Linked DNA regions of Homo sapiens: region 1 is linked to region 2. Evidence: promoter capture Hi-C in 16 types of primary human blood cells and fetal thymus (Javierre and others, 2016). All regions are on one chromosome and are shown on one strand. Each heading gives the region's core, a stretch centred on a gene start or on the middle of the fragment in contact. The rest is flanking DNA. Distances are from core to core; before and after follow the strand shown.

The links. The method cuts DNA at HindIII sites, captures the fragments that hold promoters and counts their contacts. A CHiCAGO score of 5 or more calls a contact.
Region 1: a contact is called between a fragment that was not itself captured here and the fragment with the promoter of PEF1 in region 2, in 4 of 17 cell types (fetal thymus, naive CD4 T cells, activated CD4 T cells and 1 more). The highest score is 8.5, in fetal thymus.

The regions. Positions count from the first base shown.
Region 1 is chr1:32,390,983-32,397,992 of GRCh38, forward strand. BSDC1 (BSD domain containing 1) reads right to left here and starts at 3,459. Exons shown (of 11, transcript NM_018045.8): 1 at 3,422-3,459; 2 at 3,098-3,158. The coding sequence starts at 3,432. RefSeq lists enhancers at 2,500-3,197, 3,185-3,474, 3,198-3,893, 3,765-3,844, 4,592-5,287. The HindIII fragment of the contact is 1,550 bases long and covers 2,135-3,684 here.
Region 2 is chr1:31,643,415-31,650,149 of GRCh38, forward strand. PEF1 (penta-EF-hand domain containing 1) reads right to left here and starts at 1,462. Exons shown (of 5, transcript NM_012392.4): 1 at 1,427-1,462. The coding sequence starts at 1,450. PEF1-AS1 (PEF1 and COL16A1 antisense RNA 1) reads left to right here and starts at 722. Exons shown (of 6, transcript NR_184313.1): 1 at 722-882; 2 at 1,298-1,432. RefSeq lists enhancers at 1,192-1,962, 1,282-1,351, 1,592-1,931. The HindIII fragment of the contact is 8,144 bases long and covers 1-5,550 here.

The DNA.
Region 1 (7,010 bases), core at 1,660-4,159, 750 kb after region 2:
GGTGACCCAGGAAGAGTTTGGAAAGTGGACAGAGCAATGGGCTGAGGACAAGTGTCCTCAGACACTACCTGTAGGGGGCAAGCAGAGGAAGAGGAACTCATGAGACAGTTACAAAAGCAACGTCTGGAGAAGTATGTGGAGACTTAAGAATCATGTCACAAATGCCAAGAGAGTAGCGTTTCAAGAGAGGGAGTGATCACTAGCGTCAAATGCAGCAGAATGGTCCAGGAAGATAAGGGCTGAAAACCACCCACTGGATTTGGCAAGCAGTAGGTAAAGCTGACTGAGTAAAGATAAGTTTATAGGTGGTGGCTTTGAGGGTGGGGAGAGAGTTAAAGATCCTGTTTGTTCACCTGAAGTTTCAAAAAGTAGATGAGGTTGTCTCCTGGAAGTGAAAGGGATAAAGCGGCTGAATAGGGGACCCCAGGGAAGAGTTAGGTTTTGGGAAAGTTTCTGAAGTTAAGGGGAGGAGAAGCAAATTGGAGACTGAAGAGTATGTGGGCCCAGATGAGGTTGGGGAATCTGTGATGGAACCAAAAAGCATTTGGTGCCTTTCTCTTTTTAATTTCTTCTTTCTGGTAAGTATGTAGAGCAATGATATGCCTTTCTCTATCAACGTGTATGCACACGTATTTGTGTCAGTCATATTGCCCTTGACAACACACAGGAAGACAGGACAGGAGGAGGTAAGGAGCAGAGGAAAGCAGATGATAGCACCATCTCATAGCTGTGGTCTTCAGGGCAATGTGTTCTAAGGAGTGCTGAGAAGTGAGTGGTCCAGATGGAGCCAGAATGGGACATACAGATAGGAAAGCACCAAAAGACCAAGAAAAAAAATGGAAGGAAAAACGAACTGGGGGTGGTATCTAAGAGGTTTTCCCATCAGCCTCAGCACTTAATAACAGCTAATGCTTATATAGCACTTACTGTATGCTAGGTACTGTTCTTAGTGTTTTACATATATTAACATTTAACCATCACCACAATCTCATCAAGTAGGTATTGTTAGTATTCCCATTTTATAGATGAGGAACTGAGGCCTAGAGAGGTTAAAAACTTGCCCAAGAGGCCAGGCGTGGTGGCTCACACCTGTAATCCTAGCACTTTGGGAGGCCGAGGCAGGCGGATCACCTGAGGTCAGGAGTTTGAGACCAGCCTGGCCAACATGGTGAAACCCTGTCTCTATTGAAAATAGAAAAATTAGCTGGGCGTGGTGGCACATGCCTGTAATCCCAGCTACTCAGGAGGCCGAGGCAGGAGAATCACTTGAACTCAGGAGGCGGAAGTTGCAGAGCTGAGACTGAGCCACTGCACTCCAGCCTGGTAACAGAGCCAGACTTGGTCTCAAAAACAAACAAACAAAAAACAAAAAACACTTGCCCAAGTACATATAAGAGTAAGAAAGTAAAAAAAGGGAAATTACGTCTTTTCTTTCCAAAAAGGCATAAACAACTCCCACCTCCACCCCCACCCCAGCTTTTAACTGGGAATTCCAAGAATGAAGACGGAAGGTTGGCCAACTATCTATTTTTCATAAGTTATGATAAGACCAACCTTGAGACAAACACAGGAGGCCCTCATGCAACATCTGCTGAATGAATGTCAGACTTTCCTGCCAGGAAATTACCCAACAGGAAATATGCTACTATCGGGTCTCTTCTATCAAATGTTAGGGTGCAAGCCTCTCAGTCCTCATCAACAACATAAACAGCTCAGGGCATTCTCAGATTTGCTGGGCTATTGCTGAGAGGCTGTCCAGGAGTACCCAGGATAAGGGAGGAATAAAAACGCTCCCAGATGTCTGGGTGTGGTGGCTCACGCCTATAATCCCAGCACTTTGGGAAGCTGAGGCAGGTGGCTCACCTGAGGTGAGGAGTTCGAGACCAGTCTGGCCAACATGGTGAAACCCTGTCTCTACTAAAAATACAAAAATTAGCCAGGAGTAGTGGCACATGCCTGTAATCCCAGCTACTCGGGAGGCTGAGGCACAAGAATCACTTCAATCTGGGAGGCAGAGGTTGCAGCGAGCTGAGACCGCACCTGTGCACTCCAGCCTAGGTGACAGAGTGAGACTCTGTCTCAAAACAAAACAAAAATACTCCCAGAGTAGAGGACTTATTTAGGTGAGGTCAGAAGCTTCCTGGAGTTGGCCCTGAAGCAGGACTCATCCCAATTGCTTGAGGTAAATAGTAATCAACTTTTCCCACAATTCAGTTGGGCTGATTTTGACAAATAAGCATGAAATGAAACAGGAATACACATTGGCAAATTACCCACTGGCACAGCCAAATATCACTCATCCCACAGAGATTGTTCAGCAAGAAGGCCTTCCACTCTCTGGTGATTAATCTCTCTCTCTCTACTGCCCGTTGCATAGCCCCTACTTAGAACTCATCAGGCACCAGTGTGTATGGCTCATGCTCATCTCTGGCTTGGGTTCTTGCTTTTCATCCTGTCTAGGCAGGGTTGCCCTTGATGAGGTTCCTTCTCCACAGGGGCCTTCCCTGGTGAGTTACTGACTAACCAGAACAGACAAGGTGCCCCTGTACTTTCCTTTCACAGAACTTACCACAACGGTAACTAAACAACTATTTGTTTGGCTACTCGGTTAATGGCTGTCTCTCCACTAGACTGTGAGCTTTGTAAGGCCCAGGATTACATCTGTTTGGCTGAAGTCTGTATCCTCAAGACCTATCAGAGTGCTGGTTGTCGCATATACTCTAATATTTGAATGACTATACGAGTAAGTTTTTTTACTGCTAGAATCTTTTCCTTCAAGACCTGTATCAAATGCTCTCTCTTTCACGAAGAAACTGAATTTCCTGAGCTGGAATAAATTGCTCCTTCCTATGGATTCCTACAAAACGTTCGTTAACTCCAGCCTTTAAAACCATCTTTATTTCACTGTGGCTAGTATCACACTGGTTTGCGTCGAGGTCTGTCTTCCCGTGGACCGGTAGAGGCTAAAAGAAAGGCCCAGGTCAGCCTCATCCTTGAGACTTAGCGCCCGCAAAAGTTGGGCGGGGCTGGTTGGACCAGGTTGCATTGAGGCGGCGCAGGGCCCTGCTGAGGGAAGAAGGGCACGGGCCCGGCTTACCTTCTCTTTGACTGCTTGGTAGCTCTGCTGCAGCCAGCTCCGCCACCATCCCACGTCCTCCCTGTGGAAGACAGACACATCTGGCAGCACCGCGGTGCGATTCCTGCCCGCCCAAGGATCCGGTTTGTTCCCCGCTCAGATGTACCCTGCGGGCCGAGGCTTCGCAGACCGCTTGCCCACCCCCTCACAATGCGACTCCACTCTGCCCTTTCAGATCAGTCCACGCCCCCGCTGATCTCACGTTCCCCACCGGGACTCTCGCCCAGCACCCCAACCCTGGGAGAATTCAGGCCCCAACGCCTAGGAGCAAAACGACAAGCTCACCCTTCCGCCATCTTGCCTGCATGACATCACCACTATTTACTGACCTTTGACTTCCGACACGGCACCGCCCCCTCAAGGACCGCCCCCGAGGCGCTCGGCCCAATCCTCGCGCCGGCACCGCCCTCAGCCCAATCCCCTCCCTGCGCCATCATTAGGTCCCGCCTCCCTGAACTCTATCCAGTCTCTGTCCCGAGTTCGCCCTCAAACTCCGCCCCTGAACTCTCAGTTCAATCGTCATTCAGTCCTGTCCTCAGGCTCCACCAAGCTTGACTCTTTGTCACTGTCCGCAAACGTCGGGTACGGTGGCCTCTATGGACGATGATCAGCCGACAAGCTGGACTGCGGAGAGCTGGGAGCAGAGGGGAGGAGGAGAGATAGCTCGAACGTCAGGATCCCAGAGCGCAGGGTTAGGACCGCCCCCCTTTGTGAAACCAGCTGCGTAGAGGCTGCTTTGTGTCTCTTTGGGCTAATTCAATAAGCCCATATTGCGGGGCTGTGGCCCAGAGTTTGGAGGAATGTGAATAATTCAGAGGCGACTTAGATGCAGCCTTTGGAGGGCTTACGGGTTAATGGGAGACACACACATTCAGTAATCTCAACTTTCGGTGGCCCAGCTCAGAACAACGCCAGGTGGAGGTGGTCTGGAGAAATCCGGAGACCGCCTGGATTGAGTTCTACTGCGATTGGAAGGGAGATTCCACAGCCCACATACTTTGGACTTTAATTAAGGTCAGCCCCTCCACGTGTGCGGTAGATCCCATCGCCTCTTGTTTGCTTAAGGACATAGATCTAGTAATCCCCCCTTCATCTCTTTTCCCTCTGATGACTGCATTTATCCTTGTCATCATCCGTACTGCTGTTTCTCCCATCTCAAAGGCAAACAAAAACCAGCCCTCTCTATATCCCTCACCGTTTCCCTACTCCCCTTTACAGCAAAAGCGTTGCCTACTCACAGTCTGCAACTCCCCTCTCCTCCCATTCTCTCTTGAACTCACTGCAGTTAGGTTTTTGCCTCTCAGACAATCCTTTGAAATAACTTTCTTTTATTTATTTAATTTTATTTAATTTTATTTATTTTATATTTATTTGTAGCTCTGCTGCAGCCAGCTCCGCCACCATCCCACGTCCTCCCTGTGGAAGACGGACACATCTATTTTATTTATTTATTTATTTTTGGTCCTCCCTGTGGAAGACGGAAACATCTATTTTATTTATTTATTTATTTTGAGTCAGAGTCTTGCTCTGTTGCCCGGGCTGGAGTGTAGTGGTGCAATCTCAGCTCGCTGCAACCTCTGCCTCCCGGGTTCAAGCGATTCTCCTGCCTCAGCCTCCCGAGTATCTGGGATTACAGTTGTGCACCACCATGCCCGACTAATTTTTGTATGTTTAGTAGAGATGGGGTTTCACTATGTTGGCCAGGCTTGTCTCGAACTCCTGACTTCAGGTGATCTGCCCTCCTCAGCCTCCCAAAGTGCTGGGATTACAGGCATGAACCACTGCACCCAGCCTGACATAACTTTCTTAAGGTCGCCAAGAGGAATGGCCACTTTTCAGTTCTTGTTTTACATCCGCATCTTATTTGACACAGTTGACCACTTTCTTCATTTGGCTTCCAGGACATCATGCCCTCTTGACTTTCTTCCCCGTTCATTGGCATCTCAGTATTCTTTGCTGTTTTCTCACCGCCTTCTTGTTGCTGGAATGGGATATTCCCTGGGAGAAGGCTCAGCCCTTGGTGTCCTCCTCCTTTTTGATGTTTATAGTCATTCCCCAGATATTCTCATAAAGTCTCATGATTTTATTTATTATTATTTTTTAAGATGGAGTCTCACTCTATTGCCCAGGCTGGAGTGCAGTGGCATGATCTTGGCTCACTGCAACCTCTGCCTCCTGGGTTCAAATGACTCTCCTGCCTCAGCGTCCAGAATAGCTGGGATTACAGGCACCCACCACCACACCCAGCTAATTTTGTATTTTTAGTAGAGATGGGGTTTCACCATGTTGGCCGGGCTGGTCTTGAACTCCTGGCCTCAGGTGATCCACCCACCTCGGCCTCTGAAAGTGCTGGGAGTACAGGCGTGAGCCACTGCTCCTGGCCCATTTTATTTTATTTTTAAGACAGGATCTTACTCTGTCGCCATATTAGTCCATTTTCACACTGCTAATAAAGACATACCTGAGACTGGGCAATTTACAAAAGAAAGAGTTTTACTGGACTCACAGTTCCACATGGCCAGGGAGACCTCACAATGATGGAGGAAGGTGAAAGGCACATCTCACATGGTGGCAGACAAGAGAAGAGAGCTTGTGCAGGGAAACTCCCGATTTTAAAACCATCAGATCTCATGAGAACCATTCACTATTATGAGAAAAGCACGGGAAAAACCCGCCCCCACCATGATTCAGTCATCTCTCACCAGGTCCCTTCTACAACACGTGGGAATTATGGAGCTACAAGATGAGATTTGGGTGGGAACACAGAGCCAAACCATATCAGTTGCCCAGGCTGGAGTGCAGTGGCACGATCATGGCTCACTGCAGCCTTGACTTCCTGAACTCAAGCAATCCTCCTGCCTCAGTCTCCTGAGTAGCTGGGACTACAGGCATGCACCATCAAGCCCAGCTATTATTATTTTTTTAAATAGAGATGAGGTCTCCCTGTGTTGCCTTACTTTTAATTTTTCTTTAGCAGTGCTTCACTATGTTGCCCAGGCTGGTCTCAAACTCCTGGCCTCTAGTGATCCACCCACCTTGGCTTCCCAAAGTGCTGAGATTACAGGTGTGAGCCATCTCACTAATCTCATACTTTTAAATGCCATGTATATGCTGATGGCTCTCAAATTTCCTCTCCAACCCATACATTTTCTCTGAACATCAGGTTCATTTTGTCTATTTGCATGTGTAATAGGTGTATTATTTTTAACATGTCCCAAAACAAACTCTTGATTTATCCACCTCATCTTCCTGCAAACTTTCCCACATTTGTAAATGGAACCTCATTATTCCAGTTGCTCGAGCCAAAAACCTAGGAGTCATCCTTGCTTTCTCACTTTCTTTCATACTCCCAAACTAATCCCATCAGCAAATCCAGTTGGCTCTGCCTTTCAAACAAAACCAGAATCTAGTGACTTCTCACCACCTCCACTGTTATTATGTAGATACAAGCTACCATAATCAATCTCATGGTTAATTACAAGAGCCTCTTAACAAATATTTCTGCATCCACTCTTGCCTTCCTTAAGTCTAGTCTTCATTTGCCTGAAAGTAATCTTTTAAAAGACATACGTCACTGGGAATGCAACTGGTATGGAATACAATATGCCATTTCCTCAAAAAAATTAAACAGAATTACCATATGATCCAGCACTTCCACTTCTGAGTATATACCCAAAAGAATAGAAGGCAAGTACTCAAACAGATATTTGGTGGTTTTTTGTTTGTTTGCTTGTTTGTTTTGAGATGGAGTTTTGCTCTTGTCACCCAGGCTGGAGTGCAATGGCACGATCCCAGCTCACTGCAACCTCTGCCTCCCGGGTTCAAGCAGTTCTCCTGCCTTAGCCTCCCTAGTAGCTGAAACTACAGGCGCATG
Region 2 (6,735 bases), core at 212-2,711:
ATGGACTTTAGGAAGCAACTGCTATGCTACACTTCCTAACTCCAGCCCGCACTGGCCTCTCTCTTTCCTACCTCTCTCTAAGGATGCAATAAGAGAAGTCCTAAGCTCTGGTCATGGCCTCACCCTCACTTACTACGTGTGACTTTTGGGAAGCCACTTAACCTCTTTGGGTTTGCTCCTCAGCAGTTAATTAGGGGTAATAATACCTGCATGCCGATAGGGACTTCATGATTAGGATAATGGAGGTCCAAACACTGTGTAACCCGCACAAGACTGCACTCCCTGGAAGGACTGTTACATCTTTTGGCCTGTGACTAAACTCAGTTGAGCACTGTGTAATATACCAATTGATCTTGTTTTCCCACATTTCGTTTATGGATTTCATCTCCTAAATAACTGTGTGATCGCAGCCCTCTGTGGGCTTCATTTCCTCCTCTGTAAAATGAGGGCTCTATTTTGAGGACCCTCCGGGCACTGGCCTTTTAGAAGTCTACTAAAAATCAAAATGCTAAAGGGCAACACATGTTACACCTCACTATGTACCAAACGCTTCGTAAGCATCACCTCCTGACTCTCCACAACAGCTTTATGAGGCAGATCCTATTATTCGGCCCTATTTTACAGGCGGAAACTTGGACTCAGAAAGGCAAAACAGCTTGCTCAAGGGCTCACAACTATTTAGGTGGTAGAGCTAAGATATGAACCTACCTCTGACACCAAAGTGCACTTCAACACCCTACTATCACCCAACAAAGAATTCTGGCCACAGAATCACCTTGCTGCGGTATTCCTGACTGAATCAAGATACGCTGGGGAAGAGGCATCTGAAGATAGCCCGGGTTCTGACCTCGGCCCTGCTGCCTAACTGCCTGGTGACTTCAGGTAAGTTCTGTGTCTTCTCGGGGTTCACTTTTCTACACGCGAAATGGCGGTGTTGAACTAAGTCAGTGGTCAAACCAGCTCACTTGTGGCGCCTGCTACAACCAGAGTTTCCTGATGACTCTGATGCAGTGTGGGGTGGGTCCGGAAGCCTGGATTTTTATCCGACGCCCCAAATGAGATCGGCGGAACCAGAACTCTAAACCTCCGGTCATGGCTGATGCCCCCGCCCAAGGCCCCCATGAGGGCCTTGGGAGGCTGTGGAGCCCAGGCCAGCGCCAGCCTGGACCTGTGGGGTCCAAGGTCCCCAAATCCTCGAGTGAGCGACGTCAAGGGGGCGCGACACGACCTCGCGAATGTGCGGTCCTTCATGACGTGAGCAGGGCGCGACCGACGGTCCCTTTTCGGTTCTCTACAGCGCAAGGCCTCGCTGAAGCGAACCCATCGTGGGAAGGGCGCGGAGAAAGCGGGGAGAAAGAGCAGGGGGACGTCGGGCCTGCGCCTGGCACCGCCGCTACCTGGATTCGCGGGCCCCTCACACACTCACCTGCCGGTAAGGATAGCTGGCCATGGTGATTCTGACGTCACACTCAGGCAAGGGGTGGGGCTTTCCGCTCTCAAACCCGCCCCTCGTCTCGGCTTTGGGGCTGGGCCCGCATCTGATTGGACGTCCGCGCCTGTCAATCTTGGGTGCTGTCGGCCGACGGAAGTGACGATGGGGGCGGTGGGCGGATGCCTACCCGAGAGACCAGGGGAGCTAAGTGATTGATGGAGCTTCCGGAAGTCTTGGCGGCTGTACCAGCGCTAATGTTCCTCCTTTTCCTGAGGTGGAGTGGGCCGAAGAGGTGGTCAGGTTGGGAAATTTAGTGAGAAGCCTGGGTGGGGTGTTGCTGCGGTAGCCATGTTATAACCTGGCAAATGGGACGCATGATAGTGACGTAATTGCTGGAGTAGCTCCTGAGTTTCCGCAGATGAGCCGCGGGAAAGGAGACGAGGGGCGGTGGCCAGGCGGTTGCCCTGACAACGGGGAACCGACCGACTCTTCCCGGTAGGGAGAGGCGATGGCGGAATTACTCCTCTAATGTCAAGGTACTGGGTACCAGTTAGTACCCTTGTAGTGGGATACAGATCTGTGGTCTTTGGAGAAAAAAACCCCAGATCATTAGAGTTGGAGGAAAATTGAATTATCTAGTGCCTCTTTCTTCATAAATGGGGAAACTGAGGTGCAGAGAGGCAGTTGCCTTGCCCTAGCTCACAGTGGGTCGCCTAGAACCGGGGTCAATGGATGTCCAGTTCTCAGCAGGGAGGTCTAGGTCGGTCCCCATCGTAGGTCAAATCCTGGTGACCGAGTGATCTCAGCACCATGTACTTGCCACTCAGTGGTTCCGTTTCTACACTTATTTGTGTGCTTATTTGATTTCTTTGTCAAGTTCTTTCATGTGGGCTAGGGTTTTGTCTGTTTTTGCTTGTCATTATAACTCCAGTACCTAGTATAGCGACTGACACGATTATTAAAATAAATGAATAAATGAATGTTACGAACTGTTATCCAGTCTAGTCCATCTATCTAACCAAGTGCACTTTCCAAAATCACAGTGCTGATCATGCCACTTGCCCACTACACAGCCTACAATGGATGCTCTTCATCCACGCCTACAAAATAAGGCCCAATCTCTTCATTCTGGTACTCCAGGCCCTTCAGAATCTGGCCCAGCCTCAACTTTCCAATCTTACGGCCCCTTCTGCTACTCTGTATTTCTGTGCTCAGTTCCACCATTCAGCACTTCTGCTTTGGAGGGAGGATCTTTGTTTTATCACTTTCTAACTGTATCACCTTAGGCAGGTTTTTTGTTTGTTTGTTTTTAATTTCCAACTTTTAAGATCAGGGGTATATGAGCAGGATGTGGTTTGTTACATAGGTAAATGTGTGCCATGGTGGTTTGTCGCACACATCATCCCATCACCCAAGTGTTAAGCCCAGCATCCATTAGCTATTCTTCCTGATGCTCTCCCTCTTCCCACCTCCCTCTACGCTCCGACAGACCCCAGTGGTGTATGTGCTCTCCTCATTCAGCTCCCACTTATAAGTGGTAACATGCGGTGTTTGGTTTTCTGTTTCTCTGTTAGTTTGCTGAGGATAATGGCTTCCAATTCCATCCACGTCCCTGCAAAGGACATGATCTTGTTCCTTTTTTATGGCTGCATAGTATTCCACAGTGTATATCTACCACATTTTATTTAGGCAAGTTATTTAACCTCTCTAAATTTCACTTTTCTTAGCTGACAGGAACAAATGTGTAAATTTGAAAATGAGCTTATTATACCTGCTCATGCCCCAAACTTAGGTTCAAACCACTCCTTTCACCTGGACCAGCAGCCCTCCCAACTCCAGTCCTGCAAGGCTCAGTTCCAATTCCATTCTCCACCTAACCCTCCCACATTCCCCTTAGCTCCAGAGTTAGCCACTCTCTCTTGCCACTCCCCCTTTGCACTTGGTACTGTCACTGTGTGGTATTCCAGCCTGCCTTGTATAAGAGTTTTCTTTTGGTGTTTTCCCCAAAACCCATTCCTCTCCATCTCAGAAAATCCACCCAGTCTCTCAGGCCAAAAACCTAAGATCATTCCTGTGTGTCCTTTTTTTCTCCACACACTCCCTCACCTCCCTCATCTCCATTTGCTCTAATTCAAACATGTACACATCTGCTCTTTTCTCCCTGTTCGCACTATCACTGTAGTCCAAGACACTATCATCCGTGCCTGGATCACTACAATAGCCGACTGACCAATGTTCCTGCTCTCACTCTTCTCCCCACGCTTCATTTTCTCCACAGGCAGCCAGAGTGGTTATCTTATTCCTTGGCTTCAACTCCCTGGGGACTTCCCATCACTCTTATAATAAAAGCTAAACTCATCCTAATGACATTCATGGCCACACATACCAGCATCTCCAGCCTCATTTCTTGCTGTTGCTGTCCCCCTTGCCTCATTCCAGCCATGCCGGCCTGGTTGTGCCATTCCTGGAATGTACAGAGCTCATTCCTGGATGTTGGCTTTGGCTGGTCTCTGACTGCCTGCTCATTCCTGCCTCCAGGTCTTTGGACTAGCTTTTCCCTCTGTCTGGGATAGTCTTCCCTTGACTTTTCACTGGTTGGCTTCTCCTTATCATCCAGGTCTCAGTTCAGATATCACCTGGGGTGGGGGGAGTTTCTTGACACTGCCCCCCAAGCATTCCCATCATCTATCTTATTTTTTCATAATACATGTCACTAGTTGAATTGTCCACTTTGTTTACATGTATATTGTAGAATTGTCATTTTCTTATGTAGTCCTCTAACCTCAGCACCTAGAATAGTGCCTAGCATGAATTCAATGTTAGTAGTTATTATTATCATGTATTGAGTGCTTACTAGGTGCCAGACGTTGTGCTAAGTACTATGTGTTGTTTAATTTTCACCACAGTCTTTTGAGATAGAGACTATTACCCATTTATAATGAGGAGCTGAGGCTCAGAGAGGTTAAGTGACCTTCCTGTTATCAAAAAGATAAATGGAGCCCAGGCGCAGTGACTCGCGCCTATAATCCCAACACTTTGGGAGGCAGGGAGGAGGACCGCTTAAGCCTAGGAGTTCGAAACCAGCCTGGACAACATAGTGAGACCCTATCGCTACAAAAAATAGTTTTAAAAAATTAGCCAGGCATGGTGGCATGTGTCTGGAGTCCCAGCCACTCCAGAGGCCAAGGTGGGAGGATTGCTTGAGCCCAGGAGGTCAAGGCTGCAATGAGCTGTGTTTGCACCACTGCACTCCAGCCTGGGCAACAGAGAGACTCTGTCTGGGGAAAAAAAAAAAAAAAAAAAAAGATAAATGGAGAAGTAGGACTTGATCCCAGGTCTGCATTTTTTTTAACTACTCAGTATTTAATAGTTAGTAGATTGTGTCTTCTTTACCTTCCTAACCCCCCAGTTCAAAAAATATTGGTGGAATTGAGCTGCAAAACTTCAGAAGGGAAGAAGGTTGAAGGTCAAGTGGGTATTTGCCTGGAGAGAGAACAGTGACAAGCTGGCCTGCAAACTGGAGTCATGTGACACACACTCATTTATTCCACAAACATATGATCCCATTGGGTTCCCACCTCTTGCCAGGCTCTGTTCTAGGTGATGAGAATCCAACTCCTATGAGAATTATTTGCCCCCATTCCCCTATGCCCAGCAAAGGGCTTAGGAGAACTATCTGTGGGAGGTCTGTGCTATTTCGTGGATGGAGCATCCACATCTTCTCTTAGGGAGTCAGGAACGTGCCAAAGCCAACAGCCAGGGCTGTGCCTCTGAGGACCCACACAGGCCCAGGTATGTTTGTTTTGGAGGGGGCTGGATAAAAGAGAGATCAGGATCTTCCTAAGACTGAAAAACAATCAACTCACTTCCAAAACCTCATCTACCTGAGGCAGACAGAGGTGGGTGGAGAAGTTCCTGTTATTGTTTCACTTGTAGCCCAAGGGGAAAGCATGGATTCCAGACTTTTTTTAGAACACAGAGCACTTTCCTGAGTTCGTGGAAGCCCTGCGGTTGACCCATTAGGGGTGAGGCAGAGCTTGGTAATGAAAAGCCCATCCACTGGAAAATATTGCCTCCCCTAGAGACACAGCCTCCCAGGAGCCACTTGGCTCGCACCAAGCTTCTGTAAGGCTTACTGAGAAGGAATACCAACACCCACCTAATTATTATGGAATTAATTCTCTTTGATTCCAACTAGATCCAGTTCTGAAATTTAAATTCCAGTTGGATGCTGTGGATCAGAGGATGATTTGCAACTTTCCACAGAAGCAACAGAGGAATGAGAACAGCAGACGTGGCAATTTGGCCACACTCCCCTTCCATTATGGGATCATAAGTAGAGTACGTTGACATCGTCTATTCCCATAAACTGTTCAGGACAGCCACAAAAAAGATCTAGTCCTTTGGGATCTCCAGCACCAAAAAAAAAAAAAAAAAAATATCCATGGCCGGGCACGGTGGCTCACATCTATAATCCCAGCACTTTGGGAGGCCGAGGCAGGCAGATCACCTGAGGTCAGGAGTTCAAGACCAGCCTAACCAACATGGTGAAACTCTGTCTCTACTAAAAATACAAAAATTAGCTGGGCATGGTGGCTTGTGCCTGTAGTCCCAGCTACTCCGGAGGCTGAGGCAGGAGAATCACTCGAACCCTGGAGGTGGAGGTTGAGTGAGCCAAGATCGCACCACTGCACTCCAGCCTGAGTGACAGAGTGAGACTCTGTCCCCCCACCTCCAAAAAAAAAAAAAACTAGTCTTGTAAAGGGGTTAACAGACCCCAGATGAAGAAAGAGTCTAATTAGATTCTGTTGAATTTGAGTGACAGAGGAAAATATTATGACAAAAAATGAAGATTTAAATTCCAGAAGCATCAAAGTTTAGATTTTTCTCTGCAGAATAAATACACAGCAGCCTTTTCTCCATCTTATTGAGCAGAGGGTTTCTCAAATTAAGGACCCTCCAGTCCCATCCTTCACACTGCCATCAGCGAACTCCCCACTCGGCAAACCTGACTTGACACACCTTTGTGAGAAACCCACCAGTGGCTTCCAACTGTCTTCCCTGCTCATGCTCCAAAATCCAATCACACTGTCCTGTCTCCCGTCACTCAGCCTGCTGCAACCAGTCATTTCTGGGCCTTGGCACGTGCTGTTCCCTCTGCCTGAATCCATCTCTTCGTCTAGACATGGTTAGGTTCCCCAGCTGTGCACTCCCCTGTACCTGGCACTGCCCTATCATCCCACTTTATTGTAGGTGCTTGTTTAACTGTCTGCTCTCCCTGTGGATGCTGTGGGAGCAGGGAC